Regions from separate parts of the Homo sapiens genome. Here all the other regions are linked to region 1. The links are contacts of gene promoters, found by promoter capture Hi-C in blood cells and fetal thymus (Javierre and others, 2016). All regions are on one chromosome and are shown on one strand. Each heading gives the region's core, a stretch centred on a gene start or on the middle of the fragment in contact. The rest is flanking DNA. Distances are from core to core; before and after follow the strand shown. Region 1 holds the start of FKBP3 (FKBP prolyl isomerase 3). Region 2 overlaps TOGARAM1 (TOG array regulator of axonemal microtubules 1). Region 3 overlaps FANCM (FA complementation group M).

Region 1 (4,945 bases), core at 922-3,421:
ATAAAAGCATAAACATCTCTTTGATATCTTATGATTAATAAAATAATTATTGTCAAGTATAGGTCTAAGTGTTAATGATCACCGGAGATTATTATTATTAATTTTTGAGACAGAGTCTAGCTCTGTCGCCCAGGCTGGAGTGCAGTGGCCCAATCTCGGCCCACTGCAACCTCCCCCTCTTGGGTTGAAACGATTCTCCTGCCTCAGCCTCCCGAACAGCTGGGATTAGAGGCGCCCACCACCAGGCCCAGCTAATTTTTTTTGTATTTTTAGTAGAAATGAGGTTTCGCTACGTTGGCCAGGCTGGTCCTCAATGCCTGGCCTCAACTGTTAGTCAGGATGGTCTCGATCTCCTGACCTCGTGATCCGCCCGCTTTGGCCTCCGAAAGTGCTAGGATTACAGGAATGAGCCACCACGACCGACCGAGACTATGCATTTAAAAGATTAATGTTATAAAAACATTTTGATAATCCAAGTCTGTTGAAATTCTTCCACGTGGCCCAGTTTTACATACGATTCCACATGGCATGATTTGTTTCATAAGAATATGATGGATGAAGTACATGACTGAGGTATTATTAAATGTTAATGATGTCTATTCTATTGTTTCAGATGAAATACGAATTGGCTTAAGAGAAAATAGTTCCATTAAAATGGGGTAAGATCCCCGACACATGTTCTTTTTCACCCTTGTACCTCCAAACACTGAGAATAGTTCTTGTTACAGATGTTGTATTAATATCTGCTAAATTAATCTAAGATGCGGATGCCAGGATAATAATTAAGGAAGAAGGCACTGGAAGTTGGAGAGTTCTTCTATCTCCCTGTCATGACGCCCGCCCAAAATGAAAATAAAATATAAGCTTCTCAAAATAACCCAGAAATAGTGGCTCACGCCTGTAATCCCAGCACTTTGGGAGGCCGAGGCGGGCGGATCACGAGGTCAGGAGATCGAGACCATCCTGACTAACACGGTGAAATCCCGTCTCTATTAAAAATACAAAAAATTAACCTGGCGTGGTGGCACGCGCCTGTAGTCCTAGCTACTCGAGAGGCAGAGGCAGGAGAATCGTTTGAACCCGGGAGGCGGAGGTTGCAGTGAGCCGAGATCGCGCCACTGCACTCCAGCCTGGGCAACAGAGAGAGACTCCGTCTCAAACAAACAAACAAAAAAACCCAGAAACAGTTTTTCTAAATGAAAAGTTTAGAATTTTAAAAATTGTATAGAAAACACAAGCAGGCTGCCGCTTGTAAGAGAATGCTGCGTGCACAACTATTTCAGCAATTTAACAGGTGCATGAATGAACTTATTTTCCAAAGGAAAAACAAGTGTAACAAAAATAACTTGACTATAGACGGATGGTTAAGATGGAGACTATGCTGACAAATGGAGAGCCTACAGTATAAAGCATTTCAAATAAATTTCTTAGTCTGTTTATAACAATGACAGACCACTGCACAAGAGAAATGTGCATGTAGCTCCCTTAAAGTATAAAGGTGAAAAGGTCATTTAAAGGGTCGATATGTTAAATCAAAACTTAAACCACAACCTACGGATTTTTTAAAAATCACACGCATTAATGTTCAGTATTTAGTAAACTGTTGAGAAAAGCAAGTTGGATACACCGTTCCCACAGAAATCTTCACATCCCTTCCCATTTCCCTAGTAGCCGGCGCCCCGCTCCCAGGAGTCTCATCCACACCACTATTCCTCGGCCTCTCCGCCCTAGCCCCCAATATCCTCGGGTTCCTATTTTTCTGGCCTCCACCCCCACTCAAGGATCCCAATGAGGTTCTAACTCTACAATTGCAGCCTGTGTGCCCCAAGAAATAAAGCTGCTCCCCTGCCCCAGTAGAGAACGCCCGAGAGGCGGGAGCGAGGCACCAAAGCACAAGCTGGGCCTCTCCGGCCTTCCAGGCCACCGGCCGCGGGAAGACGAGGGCGGGGGCACAGAGGAATACGGAATGTATGGGCATCTCCAGGGGGGTGAGGCGTCCCTCAGCCGCACCAGCCCGGCCGCCCCTACGCCTCTGGTACCGAATCTGAACCGTGTTCCTGCAGAAACTTGATAATGTCCTTCTTGGGCAGCTGCTCACTGCGCAGCTGCTCCACGGTCCACGCCCGCTGTGGAACGGCCGCCGCCATCTTCCCCCGCTGCCTCCGCTTTACTGAGCCAGCCCGCCGCAGTTCGGCATCGCCCCGCCCCCTAGGGCGGGGCGGGGCCACTCACGGAGGTCGAGGGGCGGGCCTCTGCTCTAGCAGTCGGGATTGGGGCCTGTCTTTGAGTGACGTCAAGGCTGTGCTATGAGGGCTTCTTTGTTGAGTCCGGGTTGAAAAACCTACCGCGGTCGTCTCTGCAGTCGACTGAGTAGAAGACCGCTAGAGATCTTCGATTCTGAATTAGACACCTTGTGAAGCGACCTCTGATGGTAGCGACATTTATCAACCATTACCCACATTTAAGGCAGCTATGCCTTTAAAGTCCAGTCTATAACCTGTTAAAAGAAAACAGCATTCAGGCTCCTTATCTCGTTTTATCTAGTTCTAGCCTAAAAAGTCACACCTGAAGTGCTTCAGTCCTTGTCGATCCGAAAACCCATATCCCACCATTTCCCTTTTAAAGATCACACAACCGAAACTTAAATACAAACTGCCCATCCCCTTCCCCCCATACAAATACGAGAAAGTTTGTCCAAAACGAAGTTCAGAAACTTTAACAAATAAAACAATTTATAAAGAAGCCGCACTCAGGATGCCACTTGCTGATGAGAATGACATTATTAATGCTCGTAACTCTGTGATGTATATTTTTTTCTCAGTACACGAGGAAACAAATTTACAGAGGTTACTCAAAGTCAGGTTTAGAGAGAAGTCAGGAATTATTTGAGACAGAAATCTTCGTTAGAGTGGAATAATTGCACACCGACGTTTATTATAATGCTCTTACCTATAATAAAGATTTAATAGTTGAACATCAGGACTCCTTACTTAAAAAAATGTAGGCTGACTCTGGGCATGTTGCCTATGAGTTAGCTCTGCTTTGCAAGGAGCATTAAAAAAAAAAATTCTGACGAATAGCTGGACCAGACCACGTTCACTTCCCTTTAAACAATGAAAATATTAAAATAATGGGTTGCCACTCCCAGCGCGGTGAAAAAGAGACTTGGCATTTTGTTTTCTCAGCCCAGATAGAGATATAAGACAAATTATTCCATCTACACATTTTTGCTTTTCACTTTATATTCTGATTTAAAAGTACAAGGAATGAGGCACGTTAGACGCTCAATAACATTAAGTTCCCAAACTGGTGGCTATTCCATTGTCCCCGGGTATGTAATATTTTACAATAAATCTCTATTATAACATTTTAAGTGATTTATCACGTTAGCAATGACGCCCAGCCATCTAATCATTGGAAACGGAACTTAAATTTAGAGTTTGTTAAAACAAAACACCGGAACCGCACCGGGGACCATATTTAGAGTAACGCCTTAATAATGCGCATGAGTCTCCGGCAGGGCTGTGAAGGTTTCCGGGAAGCCAGCCAATCATTCCCAACGGAAACTCAGTAGCGGCATTTTCAACTGGATAAACTGGCCTTAGTCCCGCCTTCTCGTTCCAGAGTTTTGTGCGAAGGAAACCGATGGGGATCGGAACCGTAGCGGTTGAGCTGCTGCTGCTACGGATATCTGACAGAAGCCTTCGGTGGTTGTCGGCCTAATGAGCGGACGGCAAAGAACGCTTTTTCAGACGTGGGGCTCAAGTATCTCCCGATCATCTGGGACTCCGGGTTGCAGCTCCGGAACTGAGCGACCTCAGAGCCCTGGCAGCTCCAAGGCGCCTTTGCCAGCAGCAGCGGAGGCTCAGCTGGAGTCGGACGATGATGTGTTGCTTGTCGCGGCGTACGAGGCTGAGCGGCAGTTGTGTCTAGAGAATGGCGGGTTCTGCACCTCCGCGGGCGCCCTGTGGATTTACCCTACCAATTGCCCAGTGCGGGACTACCAGCTGCACATTTCCCGGGCTGCTCTGTTTTGCAATACGCTGGTGTGTCTGCCTACCGGACTGGGAAAGACCTTTATTGCCGCCGTGGTCATGTACAATTTCTACCGCTGGTTCCCTTCAGGAAAGGTGGTCTTCATGGCCCCAACGAAACCCTTGGTGACACAGCAGATCGAGGCTTGCTACCAGGTGATGGGTATCCCGCAATCCCACATGGCCGAAATGACAGGTATCTTAGACTGGACTAATTTTGAAGTAAGAGCTGGGAATTCCTGACCCATGTGGAATAGTTCCCAAGCTACAACATGTGCATCTTACGCCCTCCCTCTTAAAACATTCTCTACTTGCAGCAAGCCCAAAACTGATGAATAGGGTTGCTTTATTCAATCTTCAGAGAATATCTGCAGCTTGTCATAGTATTTTGAAGCTATTATGTGCGTATACCCCATGGGTAACTGAACATGATATTTCCTGGCATTCTTCCTGAAAAAGATTTCTCAGTTGAAGAATTTGCCTCTCTTCAAATATGCCATTTTGTAGGAATTTTCTAAAGACAATTTGGTTGTAGTCCTAGATAAGTGCCAGCTTTGATATTTGGACCACACCAGAACTTTAAAATGTAGCATTCCGATGAATTGTCAAATTGTTTTTCTCTTAATGTTACCAAAGCATGTTTGCATTCTGAAAAAGCCAGACTATTTATATTTTATAGATAACAGTCTGAAGTTTAGAATGTAGAATGTCACTTTTATTTTCAGGGTCTACACAAGCTTCCACCAGGAAGGAAATATGGTGCAGTAAGAGAGTGCTTTTTCTTACACCTCAGGTCATGGTAAATGACCTTTCTAGAGGAGCTTGTCCCGCTGCTGAAATAAAGTGTTTAGTTATTGATGAAGCTCATAAAGCTCTCGGAAACTATGCTTATTGCCAGGTAATAATTTTGT
Region 2 (4,945 bases), core at 1,573-4,072, 120 kb before region 1:
CAGCAGTTCATAGAATTAAACTGAATTTTTGTGTTCCATTCTTAGAAGTTTGTTTCAGCCCCTTATTTTTTCCTATACATTTTTAGCAGCTTGTTTTGTACTTGGAAGTTTTATCTTCCAACAGTTCCTTTGTTGTAATTACCTAGGTAGAATAATAGGTATATTAGCAAAATGAATTTGGAATGACAGCATGGTCTGGTGTTTACATAATGTTATAAGACACAAAATATATTTTTAGCTTTTAGAGCTAAAGTCCTTTTATGATCTTCCATGAAGATGAAAATTTATGTTCTATAATCCTACAGTTGCAAGGTTGTGTAAATAATTTGAAACCTACTTAAGAAGAAAATTTCATTTTATATGATTTGGATACATGATGTCCTGTATTTTCTCACTGAGTTATTCTCTTCAGATACTGAATTCTGTTAGAAGGTAGTTCAGCACACCCTCATTTATGGACTGAAATGCCTTTAATGAATTTAAGATTTCCACATTTAAGATTAGTGGCTTTAGAACAATTATTCTTATCCAGCTTGCATACTGCCTTAAGATTCATGGCCAAAGAAAGCCACTACTACTACCTGATTTAAAGATTTTGTCCTTAGGTGGGTTGGGGAGGAAAAATTGTTGAAAACCACCCTCCTAGAGACTGAAATTTCTTCTTTCATCCAAGTCAACTACACTTAATATAAATGTAGATTCATAATAATCTGTTATAGAGAAATTGCTCTTTCAAAATATTTAACACTGATTTCTCACTAGGTCCACTGACAAATATATTTCTCTCCATTTACTGAGAATTGTACTTCTTTGTAAAATCTATTCTTTTTAATATTCATTACTAACTTACTGACATTGTAACACTTACTGATTTAAAACAGTTCCCTTAAGCTCAGATTTAACATTCTTCAGTTGGCTTTCTTAATGAAAAAAGGCCTATAGGTATTTATAATGTCAGGAAAGTACAGGAAAGAATAGTCTAAGCAGAAAGTGGCATTTACCAAACTTACTCATTGCTGATCTCTTACTTATAATATAGCCAAGTCTGTATTTTTGTGTTATCATATATAAGGATAGGTAGTAGTTAGATAATTAAGAATGATTTGACTTGTTATATTTATTTTCATTTTTTTGAGACAAGGTCTCACTGTGTCACTCAGGCTGGAGTGTAGTAGTTCAATCTCAGCTCACTGCAACCCCTGCCTCCTGGGCTCAGGTGATCCTCCCACCTCGGCCTCTGTAGTAGCTGGGACTACAGGTGTGCACCGCCATGCCTGGTTAATTTTTTAGTTTTTTTGTAGAGATGGAGTTTTGCGATGGTGCCCAGGCTGGCCTTGAACTTCCTGGGCTCAAGTGATCCTCCTGTCTTGGCCTCCCAAAATGCTAGGATTACAGGCATGAGTCACCACACTTGGCCTTGATTTGGTTTTAGAATGGATTCTTGGATCATTTTTTTTTTTCCTTAGGGATTATACAGTATAAGTCAGAGTCATTTTCTGTGGCAATCCTGTCTTGAGTAATTAAGAATTGGCCATATGTTAAAAAGGTTGGTAGTCCAAAAGGTGAACTAAGAATAGCAAAATATATATGTGTGTGTGTGTGTGTGTGTGTGTGTATACACACACACTGTTAGCCATAGTTTTTCAAGTGTCATACTTATTGCTCCCTTATTATCTAAAAGGTCTGTGAGTTAATAAGGAGAATAGACAATATGTGATGTGAGTATTGAACAGCACTAAATCTTAATGTTTATTGAAATTACTTTGTTTCATTGCAGGTCAGACATATTTCCAACATTTGGGTCAAAACCTTGTCCAACAAGACTTTCTTCTGCAAAGAAAAAAATTTCTCATATTGCTGAACAAAGCCCCAGTGCAGGTATTCTATGTCTGTTTATAAAAATAATTTATAAAATATGATTTTCAAATGATGTAAAAAATGATAGCAAGTGCATTTCAGATTTCATGTTGTTGTGCATACTGGTTAAGACTAATCATTTTTTTACTCCTTAAAAGGTCCTTTTGACAGGAATATGATATTGTTTTGGAAGAAAAAAATATTTATTTACCTGAATCATCAATCTCTTTTAAAGCTCAATTGGCATACCTATGGCTGGCTCCTACACCTAGATTTTTTATGTAGTTGGTGTGGAGTGTTATTTAGCTGGTGTTGGCTGTCAGAATTTTGAAAACTCCTCAGATGATTCTAATGTGCAGCATAGTTTGGGAACCACTGGACATCCCGAAAGACAATTTTCTTTAAAAACAATATTAACTGTTAATAGTAGTTAAATTCATGTGTATCTTGTGTTAAGAATTTTTGTGAACTAACCTGTAAGTCTTTAGTTTTATAACATCACTTCTCAGAAAATAGATTTAGTAATTAGTAGTCAATTAGAAAAAGATTTGCACTATGATCTATTTAGGGTGAGAACTGCATGTGATTCTTCATTATGATTAGTAAAACTACGTTGAATTGTGAATAAACTGTAACAAATTGGTATATGATGTTTAGTTTCACATGATCTAATGTAAAAGTCCTAACAACTTTAAGCTGCTTTATATTATAATCACCTTCCTAAAAAACTGTATATGTATTTGATTATTTGCTAAGATTTTAAATTTCTTGCTCTTAAATGTGTCTTAATCTCAACCCCTCTTTGTAATCCCCACTACCATGGCTTTAGTTCACACTTTTCCTCATTTATTACCTACTTAGCCGCCTAAATTTTCTCCCTGCTTCAATCTCACTTACTTTGAAACTGTTCCCCACAGTGCAAATCTGACTATACTGGCCAGCCTGAATTCATTCTGGACATGCTTTCATGATCTGGTCCCAGCCTACCTCTCCAGCCTCATTTTTCACTGCCCTCTTTGTATCTTGTACTTTCCCTGTTTGTATCCAGTTAAATCAGACCACCATCAGTACCATTTCCTATCTCTTTGCAAATGCACATACTGTTTTTTCTGGATGAAATCTAGAATCCATACCACACCCTATTTAGCTGTGAAAAGAGCTCAGTTGCTTTCTCTGGGAAGCCTTCCTTAATTCACAAACAAGATTATTACCTCTTTTGTTATACCATTACATCTTGCACTGACACCTTTTATAATGATACTACAATTGCTTTACTTTTCTTTAACTCTCAGATTCTTGATCCCCAAAGATTATTTCCCACTGATTACCTATCAAGGCTTATCATAATCGGGAATGTGTGACTTAACCAGGTGTGTTTAGTATACTGCCTTGCATAAAACTAGTGTTAACAAAGAGATAGCTGCACTTCTAGGCATACAAAGACAGTATATAAGTGCTTTGGAGTCCAAAAGATGAGCTGACACCCCAGTTTGATGTTTAATAATAGTATTCATACATTACACAACTTACTTAACTGCTTTGGAACTTAGTTCCCTCATCTGACAACATAAACCTTGAGAAGGGTAGTGAAAATCTAAGTTCATGACATATATAAAGCAACTAGTGCATAGTAGGCACTCAATATGTATTTGTCCTCTAAGGGGAGAGAGTGACCCAAAGAAATACATAAACTTATCCTTAATCCTTTTTCAGGCTGATCATCCTAATCTATAATTTTTCAAGTATTTCTGTAAAATTGAAGAGACATCTGATTACTAGATTGTATCTACTTTGTAAAAATGGAACCCACTTTTGGAAGAGTATCTTTGGAAATGGAAAATAATAGATTTTAAAAACCTGGATTTGAGTTCCCTTGTGACCCTAGTCGTGTGACCTTGGGAGTCATTTAAGTTTTAGCAGAGTGATCTCATAATAGTATAATACATACTTATATATGCAATATTTAGTGTTTTCCAAAGTTGCGTAATCTTTTTTTTTTTTTTTTTTTGAGACAAGAGTCTCGCTCTGTCGCTGAGGCTAGAGTGCAGTGGCGTAATCTCAGCTCACTGCAAGCTCCGCCTCCCAGGTTCATGCCATTTTCCTTCCTCAGCCTCCCAGGTAGCTGGGACTACAGGCGCCTGCCACTACGCCTGGCTAATTTTTTGTGTTTTTAGTAGAGACAGGATTTCACCATGTTAGCCAGGATGGTCATGATCCACCCACCTCGGCCTCCCAACAAAGTTGCCTAATTTTAGGAATCACCCTTGAGTGCATGTAACATCTGTTAATTCTGGGGCCTCATCTCATGCCTCATGAATTCATCTTTCTGGTTAGAAATCTGTATTTTTAATAAGTAAATTAGGTATTTCTAGGATCAAGTTTTAGAAATACTACTATTATTGAATTCATTATATTAAATTTAACCTTTTCTCAAAATAAGTTGCTAATGTTTCGGATTTTATATATTTGGGTTTGCTTTGTTTTCAGTAAACAAGTGATTCCTACAAATTTATTGTGGCTTAATTGGTAAAACATAAAAATGATAACGCTCAGAATAAAGACTATTGGATGATAAACACAAAAATAACAATTATTTTAAAATTCCACCTATGTTCTGCCACTACCTATTAAAGCAAATTGTGCTAAATTTTCTGAATGATATTACAGTAAACTTCTTCTAGTATATTAGATTAGTGTTGCCTATTAATAGAAAACATTTCCACCCAAAGCCAGTATGTTTATGAGTCTTATTTTATGAATTAACTATCAAGACAGAATTTATAAAGATAATCTGTGTTTTCTACAAATTCTCTATGATTTAATATTGGATATTCTTGAAACTTTTCTCTGTGAACTTACTTAGTGCCCTTTATTCTACAGTCCTTTCTAGCTTGTTGCCCCAGCTACCTCCTCTTCCTACCTTCCTGTTTTTATTCAAATACAACATTATTTTTTAAAAGTCTATTTCACTGGGCACAGTGGCTCACACCTCTAATCCCAGCACTTTGGGAGGCTGAGGCAGGTGAATCACTTGAGCCCGAGAGTTTGGGACCAGCCTGAGCAACATAGCAAAACCTAATCTCTATCA
Region 3 (4,945 bases), core at 809-3,308, 65 kb after region 1:
TAGCTGAGACTACAGGTGCGTGCCACCATGCTCAGCTAATTTTTTTTTTATATTTTTTGTAGAGACGAGGTTTCACCATGTTGGCCAGGATGGTCTCGATTTCTTGACCTCGTTATCTTCCTGCCTCAGCCTCCCAAAGTGCTGGGATTACATGTTTGAGCCACCAGCCTTCTTTTTAATTTGAAAAGTCAGGGATAAAGGAAATAGATTTGGAATAGACAGGAAGGTAACATGGCAAAGGTTATAGAAAAGTATCGGGGGCCATAATAGGGAATACCAATAAAAGGATTTAAGTAGAATATGGAATAGAAAATGAACAAGAAAGGGTAGGGAAGTAATTGGCAAGATGATGTTAAAATGGGTGTACAGGGTATTTGTTGAGTTATTCTTTGGAATAAATACCTAAGATAATTTTATATTAAACCAGTACTTAATGCACCCTTCATCAGAGCTAGCATGAAAAACTAGAGATGAGTAATACAGTCTTGGCCTTCAGGAGTGAATTATCTAGGAATATAAGCTCTTCCTTATTCACCTTTCTACGTTGATTCCAGCTCAAGGCGCTCATAGTTACCCCTATTTTCTTTCTCAGATATTTGAGAAACATTAGTTGTAGGGTTTCTCATTAGCAGAATGTGGCACCAGTTTGCTCAATGGTGTAGATCTTGGGATTTTAATAAAATAAAGTATATTAATAATTCTACTTAATATTAGTTACTGAAGTTTGCCTTTCCCTAAATATGAATATTTAGGAGACACATCAAGGATGTTTAGGAGAACAAAGAGCTATGACAGCCTGCTGACTACCTTAATTGGCGCTGGAATCCGAATTCTTTTCAGTTCCTGCCAAGAAGAAACCGCAGATTTGCTAAAGGAACTGTCTTTAGTGGAACAAAGAAAGAATGTTGGTATTCATGTTCCAACAGTGGTGAATAGTAATAAAAGTGAGGCACTCCAGTTTTATTTAAGTATTCCCAATATAAGTTATATAACTGCATTAAATATGTGTCACCAGTTTTCATCTGTGAAAAGGATGGCTAACAGGTATGTCTGTTGTAATATTTTTAAATGATTACTTTTAAAAGATTCGTAAAAGCATTCCATAGAAGTTTAATGTTAAAAAAATTTAAGCGGCATCATGCCTGTTAGATTATTTTATTCAGTAAACATTTTTTGCCTGCCAACATATATTAGTTACTGTATGAAGCTAAGGGACATTATTCGAAAAAAAGAAAAAAGAAAAAATAGGTGTAGGGATTTCCTTTGAGAAGCTTAGAGCTCTGTGGAGAGACAATAAATAGCAGTTTCCTTTGACCTTGCAATCTAACATTTCTGGGCTGTTCAGTTCTGTAACAAGAAAAATGAGTATTTTACTAGTTGTGATCATTATATTGCTTGAAGAGGGAGATTTTAGAATGTAGTTCATTTTAATTAAAGGCCTACATCAGATACTGTCTTAGCTCATGCTGCAATGATAAAATACACAAACAACACAAATTTATTTCTGCCAGTTCTGGATACTGGAAGTCTGAGATCATGGCTGGGTTCTGGAGAGAGCTTTCTACTGAGTCACAGACTACTGCCTTCTCATTGTATCCTCACATGGCAGAAATAGAGCTAGCTAGCTCTTTGACCTCTTCTTAAAAGTGCACAAGGATATCCACCTTTATCAACTAATTCTCAAAGTTGCCACTTCCAAATACCATCACATTGGGATTACGGCTTCAACATATGAATTTTGGGCAACACAAAAACATTCAGTTCATTGAAGATGTTGAAATTGTTATTCTAGATAATTTTAAGGAAAGGAAACAAGTAGCTCTTTTATCCAAACTAATGTTCAAGACATATCAGCTGGGCGGATAATGCTTGAGATGATTTCCTTAAAGGCTACTGTGTTTGGTGTTCTTTAGGTAATATTAAATTTTATAAAAGCCAAAAGTCCTAGTGTAATGATTTTGTCTCATTTATTTTTCAGCTCACTTCAAGAAATCTCCATGTATGCACAAGTAACTCATCAGAAGGCTGAGGAGATCTATAGATATATTCACTATGTATTTGACATACAAATGTTACCAAATGATCTTAACCAAGATAGACTGAAATCTGATATATAATCAAGCTGCTCAAGATGGGGTTTTCAAAGACCTCTCACAATATTAAATGCACTTCAATAATCATTGCTGTTTTATGTTTATTTGTAAATAAGAGAATATTTTATTTAAATATTTTATATTGTATACATTTTTATTTATAGATTATAGAAATTATTAAAAAAGAAAAATCTGATGTTCAGTGATCATTTTGACTAGATTATAAAACTAATTTTTCTTATTAAATAAAACAAGGTTTATTAAAAGTGTTACTAAGGATAGTTTAAGAAAGTAAAAGCTAAGCTAGAGATATACTTTGGAATGTTTCCCAAAATTAAAGTTGTACTGTTGTGATAAATAGTAAAGTTGACATGTCTATGACTACAGCCAACTTGTCGATTTTCCCTATGTGTAGATAGTATACTTTTAAGTGTACTGATTCTAAATACATGTACTTGGTAAGGTGTGGGTGATGGGTGGGTTGTGAGATAAATGACCCAGTAACTAGGAAAGTAGAAAACTTAACTGAATGTTTATCTGACCAAAGGTGTGTCCCAGTTAAGTACTGTCAAATCTATTAATATGAACTCTGATATGGTTTGGCTGTGTCCCCAACCAAAATCTCATCTTGACTTGTAATCTGAATTATAATCCCAATATATTGGGGAGGGACCTCCTGGAACGTGATTAGCTCATGGGGGCGGTTCCCCCATGCTGTTCTAGTGATAGTTCTCAGAGGATCTGATGGTTTTATAAGCTTTTCCTCTGTTCACTCTGCAGTTCTCTTGCCTACTGCCATGTGGAAAAGGAAACGTTTGCTTCCCCTCCACCATGATTGTAAGTTCCCGAGGCCTCCCCAGCCATGCAGGACTGTGAGTCAATTAAACATCTTTTCCTTATAAATTACCCAGTCGGGTTATTTCTTCATAGCAGCGTGAGAATGGACTAATACAAACTCCCAGCTACATTACTCTTTTTTGTTGCTGAAATATATTCAAAATGGTATATTGGTTTGGACTTAGAAAGTTTCTTTTTAATATAAATTACTGAATGCAGGCCCATTATGTTGACCCTATTATATTTACCGTTTTGATCCATTCTGTTGTCTGTGATGGCATTAAGAAGGCTCTGCTTGGGGCCGGGCGCGGTGGCTCACGCCTGTAATCCCAGCACTTGGGGAGGCCGAGGGGGGCGGATCACGAAGTCAGGAGATCAAGAACATCCTGGCTAACACGGTGAAACCCCATCCCGTCTCTACTAAAAATATAAAAAAATTAGCCGGGCATGGTGGCAGACACCTGTAGTCCCAGCTACTCAGGAGGCTGAGGCAGGAGCATGGCGTGAACCCGGGAGGCGGAGCTTCCAGTGAGCTGAGATCGTGCCACTGCACTCCAGCCTGGGCGATAGAGCCAGACTCTATCTCAAAAACAAACAAAAACAAACACAAACCAAAAAAGAAGGCTTTTCTTGTATCTGCAATATATATGACATCTTTCTTCTAGTCAGTCTAGTACTAAAGCAGCCTTGAATTATGTGAGTCCTTTATTCTCGGCCTCATTTTTACCCCTATTACATTGTTGGGTAGTTGAACCAGCCTCACTGCAGAGCTCTCCTCACCTTAAATCTGGCGGGGACTTCAGAGCTCATGTAATTCAAATCACTTCTCTTTCCTTTCTTACCAAATGATAAAAGTGATGCCCAGAAACAAGTGACTTATTCAAGTTTAGACTGGCAAATCTAGAAGCAGAACTCACAAACTAGGTATCATTCTCTTTCACTCTATGGTGTTGATAAAAGGGGACAAAAAAGTTACTCTAATTGTTTAGCTCCTTTGAGATAGTATCAACTCTCAATTTGTATGAAAGCAGCTGACTTATGTATGCTGCTCAATAATTCTGTCAAAACCACAGAGAGGAAACACTAAGTTATTGCCTAGTGTGCAGTTATCAGTTTATTATAACTGGACTTTTTGAGTATTTCTCCTTTAGTAGTGAGCACAATGCTAAGCTGTGACAGGAGGAAAGGAGCCTCTTTGTGGTTCCACTGTGCTACATCTTCATGTATCTTGCTCCTGCCACATTGTCAGCAGGGCCTGTGGGTAGGGACATCTGGTGGTGCTTTGCCCCAGCTGCATGCCAGAATCATGCAGTCCCTCAACAACCTCACACAGAGATACCACCACCTGCTCAGACTCAGCTGTGTGTGCACCCGTCAGACAAAAAAAAGTACATAAATTAACATGGTGTTACAGACATAACCTAGAGGATTTCATTTATTTATGCTTGCTGTATGGAGAGCTCTATCCATATTTAGGCTTGCAATAGCCTCCTCCTATATCCTCATTGGTAGCCATTAACCATTCATTATCCATCTTATTATTTAAGTCCTTAAGGTCTTTTTTCTTTTCCACTTTTAAGTTTCCTTTGGGGGTTACTTACCTTAAACCTTATCATTAGTTCATCTTATGACCTGATAGAAATAGGACAAGCCAGGTACCTGGCCGGTGAGATACCTTAGTATAGGGAAGGCGCTGAAGTTCTGATACGGATATATGGGCAGTAGGGGTCAAACTCAAGTTTATGCCATTTCAATTACCTTTTTACTTTTTGTTAAGGGATTTAACCACTTTCTTAACTCCTAAAACACTATCCATTAACTTCAAGCAGTATAGCATTAGATCAAATATTGGCAACTCAAGTTCTGCAACGGCATTTTTTTTGGCCACTCCAAAATAACCCTTTCTTTTGATCCATTCTATATCCACCAAGGGTCTTTATGGCAGAAATAATCATGGTAGTTTAAAGAAAGAATTATCTTAGTCCAATTGCACTGTTCTTTTTACAGTGTTTCCG

Evidence for each region. The method cuts DNA at HindIII sites, captures the fragments that hold promoters and counts their contacts. A CHiCAGO score of 5 or more calls a contact.
Region 2: a contact is called between a fragment that was not itself captured here and the fragment with the promoter of FKBP3 in region 1, in 6 of 17 cell types (activated CD4 T cells, total CD4 T cells, non-activated CD4 T cells and 3 more). The highest score is 10.1, in activated CD4 T cells.
Region 3: a contact is called between a fragment that was not itself captured here and the fragment with the promoter of FKBP3 in region 1, in 14 of 17 cell types (fetal thymus, monocytes, naive B cells and 11 more). The highest score is 11.7, in fetal thymus.

Annotation. Positions count from the first base shown.
Region 1 is chr14:45,132,310-45,137,254 of GRCh38, forward strand. It overlaps FKBP3 (FKBP prolyl isomerase 3), which reads right to left and starts at 2,172. Exons shown (of 7, transcript NM_002013.4): 1 at 2,040-2,172. The coding sequence starts at 2,147. It overlaps FANCM (FA complementation group M), which reads left to right and starts at 3,621. Exons shown (of 23, transcript NM_020937.4): 1 at 3,621-4,230; 2 at 4,760-4,932. The coding sequence starts at 3,723. RefSeq lists enhancers at 1,370-2,241, 1,929-2,148, 2,242-3,112, 3,775-3,824 and a silencer at 2,118-2,295. The HindIII fragment of the contact is 3,907 bases long and covers 863-4,769 here.
Region 2 is chr14:45,010,198-45,015,142 of GRCh38, forward strand. It overlaps TOGARAM1 (TOG array regulator of axonemal microtubules 1), which reads left to right. Exons shown (of 20, transcript NM_001308120.2): 7 at 1,778-1,878. Among named protein-coding and RNA genes, the nearest start is that of TOGARAM1, 50 kb to the left of the region's middle. The HindIII fragment of the contact is 9,107 bases long and covers 1-4,945 here.
Region 3 is chr14:45,197,892-45,202,836 of GRCh38, forward strand. It overlaps FANCM (FA complementation group M), which reads left to right. Exons shown (of 23, transcript NM_020937.4): 22 at 753-1,044; 23 at 1,979-2,999. The coding sequence ends at 2,117. Among named protein-coding and RNA genes, the nearest start is that of MIS18BP1, 53 kb to the right of the region's middle. RefSeq lists an enhancer at 516-1,035. The HindIII fragment of the contact is 1,579 bases long and covers 1,270-2,848 here.